2 separate regions of the Homo sapiens genome follow, and region 2 is linked to region 1. The links are contacts of gene promoters, found by promoter capture Hi-C in human tissues and cell types (Jung and others, 2019). All regions are on one chromosome and are shown on one strand. Each heading gives the region's core, a stretch centred on a gene start or on the middle of the fragment in contact. The rest is flanking DNA. Distances are from core to core; before and after follow the strand shown. Region 1 holds the start of RBM18 (RNA binding motif protein 18). Region 2 has its middle 5.9 kb from the start of OR5C1.

Evidence for each region. The method cuts DNA at HindIII sites, captures the fragments that hold promoters and counts their contacts. A contact is called where the count stands out against the background at its distance.
Region 2: a fragment that was not itself captured here is called in contact with the fragment with the promoter of RBM18 in region 1 in 1 of the 25 tissues and cell types used here (thymus).

Annotation. Positions count from the first base shown.
Region 1 is chr9:122,262,925-122,266,956 of GRCh38, reverse strand. RBM18 (RNA binding motif protein 18) reads left to right here and starts at 2,117. Exons shown (of 6, transcript NM_033117.4): 1 at 2,117-2,242. It overlaps MRRF (mitochondrial ribosome recycling factor), which reads right to left and starts at 2,075. Exons shown (of 7, transcript NM_138777.5): 1 at 2,019-2,075. RefSeq lists enhancers at 1,658-1,817, 993-1,963, 1,386-2,585, 1,964-2,935. The HindIII fragment of the contact is 4,734 bases long and covers 1-3,483 here.
Region 2 is chr9:122,780,997-122,785,028 of GRCh38, reverse strand. No RefSeq gene overlaps it. Among named protein-coding and RNA genes, the nearest start is that of OR5C1, 5.9 kb to the left of the region's middle. The HindIII fragment of the contact is 9,163 bases long and covers 1-4,032 here.

The DNA of each region.
Region 1 (4,032 bases), core at 868-3,367:
CTGGGATTACAGGCGTGCGCCACCACACCCAGCTAATTTTTGTATTTTTAGTAGACGGGGTTTCACCGTGTTAGCCAGGATGGTCTCGACCCCCTGACCTCGTGATCCGCCCGCCTGGGCCTCCCAATGTGCTGAGATTACAGACTGAAATATTTTTTTAAACTACTTGAAGCACACATTCTTTTTCCAAAGTTGAGGGTCTCAAACGATTTCCCTGTTCTTCACAGAAGGTTCATTTTAATTTTGGCTAGATGACCAACCCAAAATCCTGGCTTATCTACTGTCCCAGCAACTCTTTTCAATGCAGCTGTATACTAGCTTATAACATAAGCACTTCTATGAGTGTGCATATACGCAGGCTCTTGCATATAAAATACTTTCACATGTACCATCTTAACTGGTTCTCATAACTAAAGAGTGATAATCACCACCCGTATTTTGCAAAATAAGAAAAGTGATCTTTCACTTCTCCAGGGCTCCCCCTGCTCCAGGGTCTTCAAACATGCCATTGAATCTCCTTGATGATCTTCCCTCACCTCTTTAACTGTTTGTCTCCGTTTTTATTTCAGATTTCAGCTTAACCATCACTTCCTCAGAGGACGGCTTCCTTGGCCATCTCCTACAGCCCAACTAGGTCAAGTGTCCTGTAGTCTGCTTTCATAGCACCCTTTACTTCATCATAGCACTTAATTCTTAACAATACAAGCTAACATTTGTGTAATTATTTGATTGTCTAATTCCCTCCATATGACTCTAAGTACTACAAGGACTAATCTATGATTTTCTTGTTCACTGCTGTATCCCCAGTACCTGGTACATTGCCAGAACACAGAAGACACTGTGAATGTGATGAATACATCAGTGAAAGTCCAGAAAGATAAATTCCTTATCCAGGGTAAACCAGAATCGGATGGGAATCTACCCTTACTATTATGGTAGGTTCTGGGCTTCCCAGCGTTGCCTCCACTGTCTCTGGTTTGCCAGATTTTTGCTTAGAGATAGTAGATGATGTTCTTCTCTAAATGCAGTACCAGGTAAAGAAAGGTACTTGTAGTATCTGACTATACACAGAATCATTATGCACCTGGCACGGCCAAAGAAGGAATGAGACACTTTAACAGGTAGAGAAAGGGCTTTTGCCTAAGAGTTAAGAGATCTGGATTCCAGTATGCCTACCTTATCACTCCCTGCCATCTGCCATTTAGATTCATAATCACACGTATTCAAAAAGCATTTGCGGCAGCTCTACCACTGACTTGTGACTTGTACCAAGTGATTTCTCCTACGTAGATTTTGTTTCAACCATAAAATGAAGGGGTCAGATCAGGTTTTCATTCTTTCCAACTATAAAGCTTTCCAAAATGGGGGGAAATGCAACAGTGTGGTTTAAAACAAAATAAAGGCACTAAACTTAGAGAAAACTCCGAGTCTTGGTTCCAGCACTTCCTAGGCACGTGACCTTAAATCGGTCAAACTCTCAGGACTTCCGTCTCATCTGTAAAACGTAAATGACAATACTATTTGTCAGGGTTAAGTAAATGGAGAAGGGCTACTGAAATGACAACTGTTTTGCCACTGGGTGGCACAGAGTGGTGGTTAAAAGTCCAGGCTTAGGAGTCGGATAGCCCTAGGTCTGAATTTAAGCGCCCTCACTTTCTGACCGCGTGACCCTGGTAAAATTACCTATGTGAGCTTCCGTTTCTTCATTATGGGAGATAATAATATCTACTCCTATGGGATTGTTCTGAAACTCAAACGTTCCCGTCAAGTGTGCGGCTACTCTTTAGTAAGTTCCTCCAGCATCCCCTAAATTCCTAGCTGGTAAAAGGAGCCCCGCCCCCACCCCATGAGACTCGCTCCAATGCCACAGGTCCCGCCCTCAGCCTTAAAGGTCAAGCTGGACTCGAACGGGTCGGGGACGGTAGTCTGGTCCCCTGAGGTCCCCCAGAGGTCCCTGAGTAAGGGTCTCTGGCACCCAGACCACACGCGCCCCTCGAGGCCCTGTCAAGGACACTCACCAGCTATCGCCCAGGTTACTAAGGAAAGACTCGTGCGACGGCGGCGACCGCAGCTGCGCGGACGTCGTGACGTCACGAAGCCAGGAGGCGGCGCAGGCTTAACGCGTCACGGGCGGCCTGGCAGCTGGCGGCATTGAGGCGGACGCGTCTAGAGGTCCGTCTGACCGCGGCGTCGGGACCTGGTTTCCGGGCATGAGCTGAGAGCACCACGCCGAGGCCACGAGGTGAGTTCGGCCGCGACATGTCCCTGCACCTCAGCGATGGGCCCGCTAAGAGGTCTTACAGGAGGCCGCCCTCGCAGGACTGCATCTCAGGCCCCGCCCCGGATTGTCCTGTCGCTGGCCCGGAAATAACAATCCGAGTAATGACCCTTCGCCTGTAGGAATTCGCAGCCAGAAATCGGGAAGCCAGGGTTCCAGGCATGACCCCACCGCTTGCTGTTAGGATCAGGTGTCTCTTCTTCTCTGGATTGCACTTTCCCCAGATGACTATTTCTGGCTTCCAGAGTTATTGCAGCTCAGCTGGAAAGACAAATGTAACCGCGTTTTGTGAACTCTGGTAGTCTAAAGGATTGTTGCTATTGCAAACGCAAAGCATTTTGATAGTCCCGTGCCGTCTTGATCTTTTATTACCCTTTACCTTTCCTCAAAAAGCCATATTCTGAGCTGTCACCAAAATTGTCTTATTTAAGACTCACAACGACCTCGTGAGACGACAAATTGTACCCATTCTAGGAAGGAAAAAGAAACTAAGTCTTCGAGTGGAGAAGCGGCTTGCTTCATTTAGTAAATATTAAGCACCAACCGTGAGACAGGCAGTGTACTTAAGTGCTAGAAATAGAACCGTGATCAAGATTGGCAAGGTCCTGTGCTGTGGGAGCTTACGTTCTAGTGAAGGAAATAGAAGAGGAAACATTAAGTAATACATTGAATTAGCATTTAGTAGGAGGAAAAAGATGGAAAAGTGGCTATGATATAGAATAACAAGGAACTCTGTTTAGGAAAGCTTTTCTATCGAGAGGATGCTTAAAGAAAGGTCATGTGACTTGCTAAAGGTGCAGTTACTAGGTGCAAAAGTCAGGATTTGAACCCAGACCCGCATAGCCTGCACTCTTACCAGTAAAACATGGTACCTTTTCGTGGTAATAAATATTAATAGCTATTGGTATTATTCCTGATTTTAGACATGAGAAAATCAGAATGTCCTATCATTCAAGTCCCAAATGTCATCTCCTTTAGAGAGGCCTTCCCTCCACTCAATCTATAGTCGTCGAGTCCCTGTCACATCACCCTGCTTAATTGTGTTTGTGGCATGTATCACTAATTATATCTTCTTTATTTATTTTGCTTTTGTTTTGTCCTGCTCCCCTTCCAAATACAAGCATCCAGAGGATAGGGACCTTGCTTGTTCACTGCTCTGACTCCAGTAACTGGATAAGTCCTAGATAATAGAAGCAGTGAATTTATTTTTTGAATGAATGATTTGTTTAAAAAGTAGGGGGAAAGGAAAGCAGAGGGAAGACAAAAATGTGTCTCCCCTGGGATTAAATTTATGTCTGTTTCACCTTTCTCCCAGGAGGTAAGAACAAGAGCTGTGGCTTTTTCATTTGTCTATTTCAGTACATAGCCCAGAGTTTAACAGTTCCTAGTTGCTTGACTTACATTGCTGAACAGATTAAAGATGTGAATGGGAAAGGAAGAAAAATACCCTCATGTGCAGGGTATTCAATAAACAATTACCTAGGGACTGCTGTGCTAGACTTTACAGGGTGTGCTGAGATGATTAAGAGGTAATGGCAGTTGTTGTGACTGCCTCCATGGTTCCTGTAGTGCTGACCTCTGAGGTACTTCTGGGTATAGGATATGTGTTCTCTAGCAGGGACTTCTGAACTCTGACACAGCCTGCTGTCCTCCCAGCCCCTAAAGCTTTATTTCACATCTGTCGTCTCATTTTTGGTCCTCGAAGCCTTAAGTTATAAACAGGGCAAAATTTATTAAAGATGGGTAAACTGAAG
Region 2 (4,032 bases), core at 1,058-3,557, 520 kb before region 1:
TCCATTGTTGTATAATTACCTACATGCTTATCTCCTCTCACCTGATCAAGCATCTTAAGATCTGGGACTGTGCTTAATTCACCCCTCTGTCCATAGGCATACAGGATTTTAGGTATCTTCCTCCTTCTCCTTGGTGTGTCACTGGTGGAGGTCAGACAGCTTCCAGGGGTACAGAAACAGGGAGTTCCAGTTCTACTCAACTACCTGTTCTCCAAGAATGAAGTCTGCTACCTGGCCGAAGTTCTGCACACAGAACCCAGTGGGTGGCCAACCCCTTTGTATTTCAGTCTGTCCACATGGAAAGCAAATGCAACTCACCTTTACCGAGTGAGGAGCAGAGGTGCTTTGAGTGCCTCTCCATTTCTCCATCTGTAAAATAGGGACAACGAGACTTCAGGACTTTTAAGGTACTTTGAATGTTTTGGGTACAAGTACCCACAAACTTCAGTTAAGTAGGTATTGTGGAGTGTGTGTGTTTGCACACACAAAACATAGAATTAATTCTCCATTAACGTCTCTCTCTCTCGCCTCACTACCCAGGAGGAGCAATATTGACGTTCTAGGGTTGTGTACGTCAGTGTGGGACTTGCTAATAAAAGAGGAGGACTCAGGTTTTCATAAGGAGCAACTTCTGCGTTTGCTCTTCGGTGCTAATCAGTGCTAGAAAGGATCTGGAAAACTTCAGGTTCCTGCACTTTTAGGTTCCCGGTTGCCTCTAGTTGACTCTCTTGTCTTTTCAAATCCTTCCAACATTCCTACTTCTGTCTGACTCCGTATTTATCTTTCAGTCCCTGGGATTAAAGCTTATGAAGTCTGTCTATGTATATATTTATGTATGCATGTATGTATGTATGTATTTATCAATCTATCAATCACTTAAATATCAATCCATTTTTAATTATATACTCAACAAGCATTTTTTAACTACCTGTTATGGGACAGGCACTCTATGAGCACAAGGGATACAGATGTCACTATAACACATCTGTTACTGCTCTCACAGAACTTTCAGGCTGGTGGGAAGAGAGAGCTCTCAATCAAATAACCACACACATACAATTACAAACTAACATATATATGATCTGAAGGAGAGGAACACATTTCTCTCTTTCTCCTCAGCTTACTGAATGGCATATGATGCCAATCAATGGAGTGATTGGTAGGCCATTGATTGATTGATGATTGCATGAACAATCTCATTTGATACCTATCACATCCTTATGAAGCAGATACTTTTATATCTACTCATAGATGAAGAAATCCAAGCCCAGAGAAGCATCTTTTACTTTTGAGGGTGATTGTTCCCACCCTCTCCCTTTGTTCCCACCCTCTCCTTTTGGCCCAACAGTGGGCCGCCCACCTGTTGTGCCTCTGCAGTACCCTTGTGCTGGTCCACTTCACTCCAAGGACTGCCATGTCCCTGGTCCAAGCCCCACTCATGTGATCATGAGTGAGCTTCCCAGCTGGTCTCCATGCTGACCACATCTTCCCCTCTCCACTGTGCTTCTCAAGCCTTGTCTAAGCATTTTACTCTGACTGTGCATTAGATAACTCCAAACACTTTGCCAAGGGTCTCCACAAAAACAGTTTTCTAATATTGTTTCTTCTATGCAAGCCTTTGCCCTAGTCCTATCTCCTTATTATTCACTCTTCTCCCCTGTCTTTGATGCTAGGCCTACTTATTACTATCTTTTGAAATTATTTCCCCTGTCTAGAATCCCTTTTTTCCTCTTCTTCCCTGTATTAGTTTGTTCTCATGCTGCTATAAAGAACTGGCCAAGACTAAGTAATTTATAAAGGAGAGAGGTTTAATTGACTTACAGTTCCACATGGCTGGGGAGGCTTCAGGAAACTTACAGTCATGGCAGAAGGGGAAGAAAACATGTCTTTCTTCACATGATTGCAGGACGGAGAAGTGCCAAGCAAAAGGGGAAAAAGCCCCTTATAAAACAATCAGATCTCGGCCTGGAGCAGTGGCTCACACCTATGATCCCAGCACTTTGGGAGGCTGAGGCAGGCAGATCACGAGGTCAGGAGATTGAGACCATCTTGACTAACATGGTGAAACCCCTTCTCCACTAAAAATACAAAAAAAAAAAAAAAAAAATTAGCCAGGCGTGGTGGCAGGCGCCTGTAGTCCCAGCTACTTGGGAGGCTGAGGCAGGAGAATGGTGTGAACCCAGGAGGCGGAGCTTGCAGTGAGCCGAGATCACGCCACTGCACTCCAGCCTGGGCGACAGAGCAAGACTCCATCTCAAAAAAAAAAAAAAAAAAAAAAAATCAGATCTCATGAAAACTCACTATCACGAGAACAGTAGCATGAGGGTAACCGCCCCCATGATTGCATTACCTCCCACCAGGTCCCTCCTATGACACGTGGGGATTATGGGAACTACAATTCAAGATGAGATTTGGGCGGAGACACAGCCAAACCATATTGTTCCCCTATTCAAGTTCCTAGCTAACACTTTTTTTTTTTTTTTTTTTTTTTGAGATGGAGTCTCGCTCTGTCACCTAGGCTGGAGTACAATGGCATGAACTCTGCTCACTGCAACTGCCACCTCCCAGGTTCAAGCAGTTCTCCTGCCTCAGCCTCCTGAGTTACTGAGATTACAGTCACGAACCACCAGACCTAGCTAATTTTTGTATTTTTTGTAGAAACGGGATTTCACCATGTTGGCCAGGCTGGTCTTGAACTCCTGACCTCAGGTGATCCACCTGCCTCAGCCTCCCAAAGTGCTGGGATTACAGGCATGAGCTACTGCACCCAGCCCCTAGCTAACATTTAAGCCCGATTTAATTTGTGTCTTCTCTGTGAATCTATACCCAGCCATTGCAATCTACTTTGGCTTAATATTAAGGGACTTGTGATGTTTTCTGCCACAGTATCACTTTAGTTTCATGCATTCACCACCCCAAGAGGTATTCACTCTTAAAATAAGTTGGATTCTGCAGTCGAACATAGGCTGCCATCAAATGGAGTGGTTATAACACAGTCTCATTGGTTGGAGCCATTAGGAGAGAGATGGAGTTTGTATTAAAGATGATGCTATGACCCCATCCTGTGAGCAAGGCAGACATGGCTAGTCAGTCGTGCTACTCATTCTTACTGAACTCGGACTAGCCTTAGAATCCTTCTTATCTCAGTGCTTGTGGAAGTCACTGCCTGAGGGCTGGGGTTTGTAGGAGAGGTGAAGCATCTTTGTTATCCTTTGGTTAGGTGCATGTCTTCTCTGCAATTCAAACTCCCCTATTTCAATCCTGAGTTTTTCATAACATTTCCCAATGAAAAAAATCTTTAAAAATTAAATTTAATGTTAATAATAAATATGAGTACATCGTTAGAAGTTAGTGTTTTCTACTTTGCTCTCTTTTTGTTATTTATTTTTAGGAGCAATATAATGCACTGTAAAAAATTCAAGAGGCACCAAAGGGTATTTAATAAAAAACAACTCTTCCTCCCACCTTGCTTCTGAGTCCTCTATTCCTGCTCTCTAGAGGGGACAGCTGCTAGCAGTTTCTTGTGTATCCTTCCAGAATTACTTTATAAATGCACAGACATATATGTATATATTTATTTTAAAACTTGTATGTTAGCATATAAATGGAAATGCTAAGTCAAAGAGTATATGTACTTCATTTTGTAGATACTATCAAATTGCTCTTAAATAATGATATACTAATTTATATTTCCACTAGCAATACATAAGAGTACATGCTTTCCAACATTCTCCATAATACTGTTTTCAGACTTTTTGATCTTTGCCTAATGATATATAAAAGTACCTCACTGTAGCCTTAATTTACATTTATCTTATTATGAATGAGAATGAACATTATTTAATAAACTTAAGAATCACTTGTGTTTCTTTTGTGAATTCTCTGTTCACATTCTTTGCCAATTATCTGTTGAATTTTTGGTCTTTGTTGCTATTAATTAATTTATTATTATTATTATTTTTGAGATGGAGTCTCTCTCTGTCACCCAGGCTGGAGTGCAGTGGTGTGATCTTGGCTCACTGCAGCCTCCAC